2 separate regions of the Homo sapiens genome follow, and region 1 is linked to region 2. The links are contacts of gene promoters, found by promoter capture Hi-C in blood cells and fetal thymus (Javierre and others, 2016). All regions are on one chromosome and are shown on one strand. The core of a region is centred on a gene start or on the middle of the fragment in contact, and the rest is flanking DNA. Distances in the headings are between cores, read along the strand shown. Region 1 overlaps TMC7 (transmembrane channel like 7). Region 2 holds the start of TMC7 (transmembrane channel like 7).

Region 1 (3,843 bases), core at 880-3,379, 78 kb before region 2:
ACAAAATTAGCTGGGTGTAGTGGCGCATACCTGTAATCCCAGCTACTCGGGAGCCCGAGGCAGGAAAATCGCTTGAACCTGGGAGGTGTAGGTTGCAGTGAGCCAGTATCACCCCACTGCACTCCAGCCTAGGCAACAAGAGCAAGACTTCGTCTCAAACACACACACACACACACACACACAGAGAGAGAGAGAGAAAATACATACACAGGAAAACCCAGTTTCCAAAATTTCAGGGAGACTGATTTGAGTAATAATAATATTCTGGTCTCCTGTTTAGCCAGCTCTGCATGTATCAAACGCTTTCTCTGTTGCAATTCCTCTGCTGCAATTCCTCTGTCTTGATGAATGGGCTGTATCCAGGCAGCGGGCAAAATGAACCAGTTGGGCAGTTACACACATACACCCTCCTTGGCTTCAACAGAGCCAAGGAGCTTTAAAAGCACTCATCTGAGGACTACATTAAACACTTCTTTCTTTTCTCTCATTTTAGGAAAAAGCAAAGAGGAACTTTACAAACTATTACAGTTTTCCATCATCACTTGACTGCTGACAAGAAGCCTCTTTGAATTCCAGTATACACGATCACATTTTAAAACCTTCAAGACGCCGTTTAATCAGGAGTTGTAAGGCACATTTGTTAGAGAGAGCTGCACTTTAAAAGTTATACAGACATCACCTGAAGTTATTAAAGTTATCAAAACATATTAAAAACCTTCAAGTAAGAGGTATGCATATTAGCAGCATTTAACTAAAATTAATATATTAATTAGCATATTTCAGTATCACTTTTATAATAGGAAAAAAAACGCAGTACGTTTTCGTTGTGTTCATCACACACACACACACACACACACACAAATAGAAAACTTGAATATCATCAAGTCTGGTCACAGTGAAAATGTTATATAAATATAAAGGCACTGGGCAGAAATGTTTACAATTACAACTTTTTTTTTCTTTTCACCTATCTTTTTTTTTGAGATAGGGTCTCCCTCTGTCACCTAGGCTGGAGTACAGTGGCACGGTCTCGCACACTGCAGCCTTCACCTCCCAGGTTCAAGTGATTCTCATGCCTCAGCCTCCCAAGTAGCTGGGATTACAGGCACACGCCACCATGCCTGGCTAATTTTTGTACTTTTAGTAGAGACGGGGTCTTGCCACATTGACCAGGCTGGTCTCAAACTTCTGACTTCAGGTGATCTGCCCTCCTTGGACTCCCAAAGTTCTGGGATTGCAGGCATGAGCCACTGTGCCCAGCAGAATTTATTTTTTTAAGTGAGACTGGAATGAATCTTTGGTTACTCAAAATTCCATGACACCAGTTATTAGATTTAGACGAGATCAGGCATTTTCAGGGTGGTATGACTGTAGTTATTAGATTTAGAAACCCATAAACCTTACCAAGTCAGGAAAAGACCGAAAAGCTCATTGGTATCCCAGTTACAAAAATATTCCACTTTAAATAATATCTTTGTGGAAAAGCAAGAAAATGGCTGTAAGAAAGGGACGAGAAGATACCTTTGCTCCTCTGAGCAAGGATTCAGGCATTTTTGAGTAGTGGAGTGGAGATGGCCGGGAGAATTATTGTTAACAGCAACAGCTTTCTAAAACCTGCACCCAACTTTAAATTCCAGGCTACTCCCCAGGAAACGTGTGGAGCCAGTGAACGGAAGAAAAACAATGGAAGGAAGGCTTGAAAAGTCCATTACAAAACTACAGTCCTTTGAAAAAGATTTCAAAGATATTAAAATGAAAACTGATTACATTAAACAATAACTTAAACTTCTGTTCTTCTGTTAAAAGGTTGACATCTATCAATTTTGGGTAAGCTTACAATGAGGTATTTATTGCATATGGTTTTTACCATAACGGAAATCTTAAGAGATATTCTACATTTTTTTTTTAGGGAGAGTTTTGCTCTTTTTGCCCAGGCTGGAGTGCAATGGTGTGATCTCAGCTCACTGCAAACTCCACCTCCTGGGTTCAAGCAATTCTCCTGCCTCAGCCTCCTGAGTAGCTGATATTACAGGCATGTGCCACCACACCCAGCTAATTTTGTATTTTAGTGGAGACGGAGTTTCTCCACGTTGGTCAGGCTGGTCTTGAACTCCCCAACTTAGGTGCTCCGCCTGCCTCGGCCTCCCAAAGTGTTGGGATAACAGGCGTGAGCCGCTGCGCCCAGCCACATGTTTTGTGAAATAAAGGCACATGCATTAAAAATTGTAAGCACAGGAAAACAACCCTAAAAAATGTGGACGTGTGTGTTTAAGAAACCAGCCTCCAATTCTGTTTGTTATACACTCATGGGCTGGTCTGATTAACAGGCTGAGCTTCAGTCCACAACCCAAAACACTTGTGCACATAAACTCGTGGCTCAAATACTAAACTACCGTCTCCGCTCTTTCATTCTTGTAAAAGCTTGAATGGCTTGTTGGTTTTTGGTAGAGTTGTCACAGAGTGGCCGGTCTGCAGGCAAAGCCTTGGGTTTCCCCTGCTTTTCTAAGTCACTGAAGCCCTAATTAAGGGCTGGGTTAGGTAAACACAGCTGCACATATGGAAAAGCCTAAACTCAAGAAAAATATATTTTTAAATGTCCACTCAAAACCCAGGTAGACTCTGTAGGCTCAGCAGAATCACTAGGTCAGCTTAGAAGCAACAGGCAGCACCATCTTCACGCTCAGTCTAGTTAGTTCCTCATGTCCCTTTGGGCTTCTGTTAGTTTCTGGATTAGGTAGCACTTGTCACGACTTTCCTAAAAAATAATAAGTTCACATGTACATTTAATATATTTGGAAACAAATACCATCATTACCTACCAGACTGAGGGCTGAGGATTCTAACCACTGGACTATTGTAATGGCCTCTCATCTGGTCTGTCATTGTGTCTGCTCCACAGCCCCTTGTCCACAAAGCAGCCGATCCTTTTTTTAAAAAATGCACAGTACAGCTGGACACGGTGGCTCATGCCTGTAATCCCAGCACTTTGGGAGGCCGAGGCAGGTGGATCACCTGAGGTCAGAAGTTTGAGACCAGCCTGACCAATATAGTAAAACCCCATCTCTACTAAAAATACAAAAATTAGGCCGGGTGAGGTGGCTCACACCTGTAATCCCAGCACTTTGGGAGGCCAAGGCAGGTGGATCACCTGAGGTCAGAAGTTTCAGACCAGCCTGACCAACGTGGTGAAACCCCACCTCTACTAAAAATACAAAAATTAGGCCAGGCGAGGTGGCTCACGCCTGTAATCTCAGCACTTTGGGAGGCCGAGGCAGGTGGACCACCTGAGGTCAGGAGTTCGAGACCAGCCTGGCCAACAAGGTGAAACCCCGAAACCCCGTCTCTACTAAAAATACAAAAAATTAGCCGGGCGTGGTGGCAGGTGCCTGTAATCCCATCTACTTGGGATGCTGAGGCAGGAGAATTGCTTGAACCCAGGAGGTGGAGGTTGCAGTGAACTGAGATCACACCACTGCACTCCAGCCTGGGCGACAGAGTGAGACCCTGTCTCAAAGGAAAAAAAAAAAAAAAAAGACTGGCCATCATGGTGAAACCCCTTCTCTACTAAAAATACAAAAGTTAGCCGGTTGTGATGGTGGGTGCCTGTAATCCCAGCTACTTGGGAGGCTGAGGAAGGAGAATCAATTGAACCCGGGAGGTGGAGGTTGCAGTGAGCTGAAATTGCGGCACTGCACTCCAGACTGGGTGACAGAGCAAGACTCTGTCTCAAAAAAAAAAAAAAATGCACAGTAGACTCTTACAAACCCTTCAGCAGCTTCCCATCCCACTCAGAATAAAACTCTAAACAGAGCCCTCAAGGCACTGTGACTTGATGACTCTGGT
Region 2 (4,032 bases), core at 1,287-3,786:
ATTCTCCTGCCTCAGGCTCCCCAGTAGCTGGGATTACAGGCACATGCCGCCATACCCATCTTTTTTTTTTTTTTTTTTTCAGACAGAGTCTCTGTCACCCAGGCTGGAGTGCAGTGGCACAATCTCGGCTCACTGCAACCTCCACCTCCCGGGTTCAAGCGATTCTCCTGCCTCAGCCTCCCGAGTAGCTGGGACTACAGGTGCATGCCACCACACCTGGCTAATTTTTTGTGTTTTTAGTAGAGACAGGATTTCACCACGTTAGCCAGGATGGTCTCGATTTCCTGACCTCGTGATCTGCCCACCACGGCCTCCCAAAGTGCTGGGATTACAGGTGTGAGCCACTGTGCCTGGCCAGCCACCGGAAAGTTTTATGTAAGCAGGGGAGTGATCTGTTTTATCATTTAGAAGGATACATACCTCTTCTTTTTTTTTTAGAGACAGGGTCTAGTTCTGTCACCCAGGCTGGAGCCCAGTGTCATAATCATAGCTTACTGTAACCTCAAACTCCTGGGCTCAAGTGATCCTCCTGCCTCAGCATCCCAAAGTGCTGGATTACAGGCATGAGTCACCATGCCTGGTCACACTTCTCATTCTTTAAACCAGACCTCATTTGTCGCCTCCCCCATCCCCCGCCCCACCCCACGGACTGTCCTATAATGCCCATACAACAGGTCACTGTTTAGAAAGTGCTACAAAGTTACAAACACAGTCCCTTCTGAGCCTCCCACCAATGTTGGTGGGTACAAGATCAAAAAAAAAAAAAAAAAACTCATCTATCTAAGGGGCATAGAAGACTTTTTAGTTAGAGGGCCCAATTATAGTCCTCCTGAAAAGATGCCAAAAGTCCCCTCATACACTTAGCAAAGATGCAAGAAAGATGAATCTCACATTCTTTGTATGGGAAATGAGGAACTTGACATCTTCAATATAATGGATTCCACTAAAATAAGATGACTATTAATAGGAACCAACTAAAAAAATACTTGACTAGCTGTTATTGAAAGGCTGAAATTCAGCTGACATAAGCAGTATTAATATTGAGCTAGAAAATAATTCGCATTGAATCCACCCCAACTTTTGTTTTCTGATTTGGGTCTCTTCTAAATTTTTTTTTTCTTCTGGACATTGGGAACAATCCAATTTGAAGGCCTCAATGACCAAATCTACACTCATGTTTTATTCTATATCCTTGGTTTCTTTTTTTTTTTTTGAAACAGTCTTGGTCTGTCGCCCAGGCTGGAGTGCAGTGGCGCAATCTCGGCTCACTGCAACCTCCGCCTCCCGGGTTCAAGCTATTCTCTGCCTCAGCCTCCCAAGTAGCTGGGATTACAAGCACCCACCACCACTCCTGGCTAATTTTTGTATCTTCAGTAGAGATGGGGTTTCACCATCTTGGCCAGGCTGGTCTTGAACTCCTGACCTCGTGATCCACCCGCCTCAGCCTCCCAAAGTGCTGGGATTACAGGCGTGAGCCACCACGCCCGGCCCTACATCCTTGGTTTCAGTAAATCTCTATTCTAAAACTGAAAAAGAGAAAACATTGCAGATAAAACTTTACAGCAGGGTCTTGTGTTTTGTTCAGGACAAGATTCGTAAGCTCCAAATGCTACAAGGAACCCTGCCTGAGTGCTGGCAACTTTTTTATCCTGACTGGGCAGCCGTTGTACATATTTCTGTAGAAATTCATGGAGCTGTATACTTTACTGTAATTCTACCCGATACAAAAGATTATAATACTTGGCTGGCTACCATTTATTGTGACTGTCTAGCCACAATGCCAGGCACTGTGCTAGACACATCACACGATTCTCAGCTAATCCCCGCCCCATTCTATTCCCATTTTACTGCTGAAGGATCTGAGGCTCAGAGAAGGCAAGCCACTTACCAAAGGTCCCACAGCAATAAACAGACAAGGCAGAATTCGGTTTCAAGTTGGTCTAACTGTATGTGAAGGCTGAAATGTCCGGGAGGCAGGCACCTCATACCAGAATGTTAGGCGTGGAGGGGGTGCTCAAATCCTTTCATTTAACAGCAGATGAGGCTATTGAAAGACTGTCTCGGTCAACAGCTGGAAGACAAACCCACCACGGTCCAGACTGCAGTTCTCGTGTCCTTTTGGCCCGGCTGGGTTCCACTGGATTGGATGAGGACGCGTTTGTGGAGGGAGCAGGAATAAGGAAGATCTCCTTCCCACCTGCTGTTCCCCAGAGCCGGGAGCACCCGGCGTCGGGGGTGGGAGGGAACAGCGGCCAGGCCGAGCCTCCAGCACCCGGCTCCCTCCGTGCGCCCTCGGACCCCAGGGGCACCGTCCCCGCGCGCGCTCCCTGCCGCCCTACCTGGATGGACCGCCGGCTGCCGGCTGGGCCTGCCGGGCTGGAGCGCACTGCCGCTGGACTCGCTCATGGCCGCGCCCCGCGCTCCTCAGAGGCTGCCGAGGACCCTCTCCAGCCGCCGCCGCCGCCGCCGCCTCCCCGGCCTTCCCTCGCGGAGCCGGGATTCCAGGTTCCGGCGCTGACATCACAGAAGCCGGAGTGGGGCGCCCCCGCGAGGAGCCGAGCATCAGGGACCGCAGAGGGGCTGCAGAGCCCGGGAGATCCGGCAAGGCTCCATCCAGCGGTGGCGACAAGCAGCGACCTCCCTGATGTCTCACTGAGCTTAAAAAATAACAATAGATTGGGCGCACTGGGAGCCCAGTCTCCACCAGGACCCGGTACACCCATGTAACAAACATGCACATGGACCCCCTGCATCTAAAATCAAACCTGATCTAATAAAGAAATAAATAACAAAAATAACTGGTTGGGAGTGGTGGCTCACGTCTGTAATCCTCGCATTTTGGGAGTCCGAGGCTGGAGGACCGCACGAACTCACAAGTTTGAGACCAACCTGGCCAACACAGTGAGACCCCCATCTTTAAAATTAAAAAATAAAAAGTCCACACGCAAAAAACCCCAAGACTCCAAATCAGTGCATCTAGTAAGTTACCATTTGGGAACAAAAAGGAAACCAAAAAATATATTTGTACATGCTTGTAAATGCCTAAGCTATCTCCCTAGAGGGTGCAAAAAACTGGCTACCTGTGGTAGCTCTGGGTGGGGAGCTAGAGGGCCGAGTGAAGAGAAAACCACGTGCAGTGTTTGTCTTTTACGTTTTGCACTATATCCTCGTTTCATCTCTACCTCTGTTCGTGTGCAGGTTAAAAACATAAAATTGCCAGGCGCAGTGGCTCACACCTGTAATCTCACCACTTTGAGAGGCCGAGGCGGGAGGATCACCTGAGGTCAGGAGTTCGAGACTATCCTGGCCAACACGGTGAAACCCTGTCTCTACTAAAAATACAAAATTAGCCTGGCATGGTAGTGCATGCCTGTAGTCCCAGCTACCAGGGAGGCTGAGGCAGGAGAATCGCTGGAACCCAGGAGGCAGAGGTTGCAGTGAGCCGAGATCACGCCACTGCACTCCAGCCTGGGCGACAGAAGGAGACTCCATCTCAGAAAAAAAAAGAAAAAGAAAAGTAATTGCTAAATATAAATAAATGGGGAAAATGGAGAGAAATCTCCTGTGCAGATTTTGAAATCATTTACGTAGATACTTTAAGGATGGGGAGCTTAGCTCCCTACTCCTTAAGTGTGAGTTGCCCATAGCGACATCCTTCCAAAAGAGTGCAGTATGGAAGTGGTGGTGGAAGAGGGTGAGGGTGGGTTTTATATTAGATAATACCTGACAAACACTGTCTCAGACAGATGATCAAAGTTAACATCATCCGGGATCAGTGGCTCACACCTGTAATCCCAGCACTTTGGGAGGCCGAGGCAGGTGGATCACTTGAGGTCAGGAGTTCGAGACCAGCCTGGCCAACATGGCGAAACCCTGTCTCTACCAAAAATACAAAAAAATTAGCTGGGCATGGTGGCGGGCGCCTGTAATCCCAGCTACTAGGGAGGCTGAGGCAGGAGAATCTCTTGAACCCAGGAGGCGGAGGTTGCAGTGAGTCGAGATTGCACTACTGCACTCCAGCCTGGGCAACAG

Evidence for each region. Contacts are between HindIII fragments. The CHiCAGO score rates a contact against its expected background, and 5 or more counts as called.
Region 1: a contact is called between a fragment that was not itself captured here and the fragment with the promoter of TMC7 in region 2, in 1 of 17 cell types (endothelial precursors). The highest score is 5.1, in endothelial precursors.

Annotation. Positions count from the first base shown.
Region 1 is chr16:19,060,690-19,064,532 of GRCh38, reverse strand. It overlaps TMC7 (transmembrane channel like 7), which reads right to left. Exons shown (of 16, transcript NM_024847.4): 16 at 591-2,755. The coding sequence ends at 2,690. COQ7-DT (COQ7 divergent transcript) reads left to right here. Exons shown (of 3, transcript NR_119381.1): 2 at 494-728; 3 at 1,638-1,779. Among named protein-coding and RNA genes, the nearest start is that of COQ7, 5.0 kb to the left of the region's middle. The HindIII fragment of the contact is 589 bases long and covers 1,835-2,423 here.
Region 2 is chr16:18,982,438-18,986,469 of GRCh38, reverse strand. TMC7 (transmembrane channel like 7) reads right to left here and starts at 2,536. Exons shown (of 16, transcript NM_024847.4): 1 at 2,340-2,536. The coding sequence starts at 2,406. RefSeq lists a silencer at 2,566-2,625. The HindIII fragment of the contact is 29,016 bases long and covers 1-4,032 here.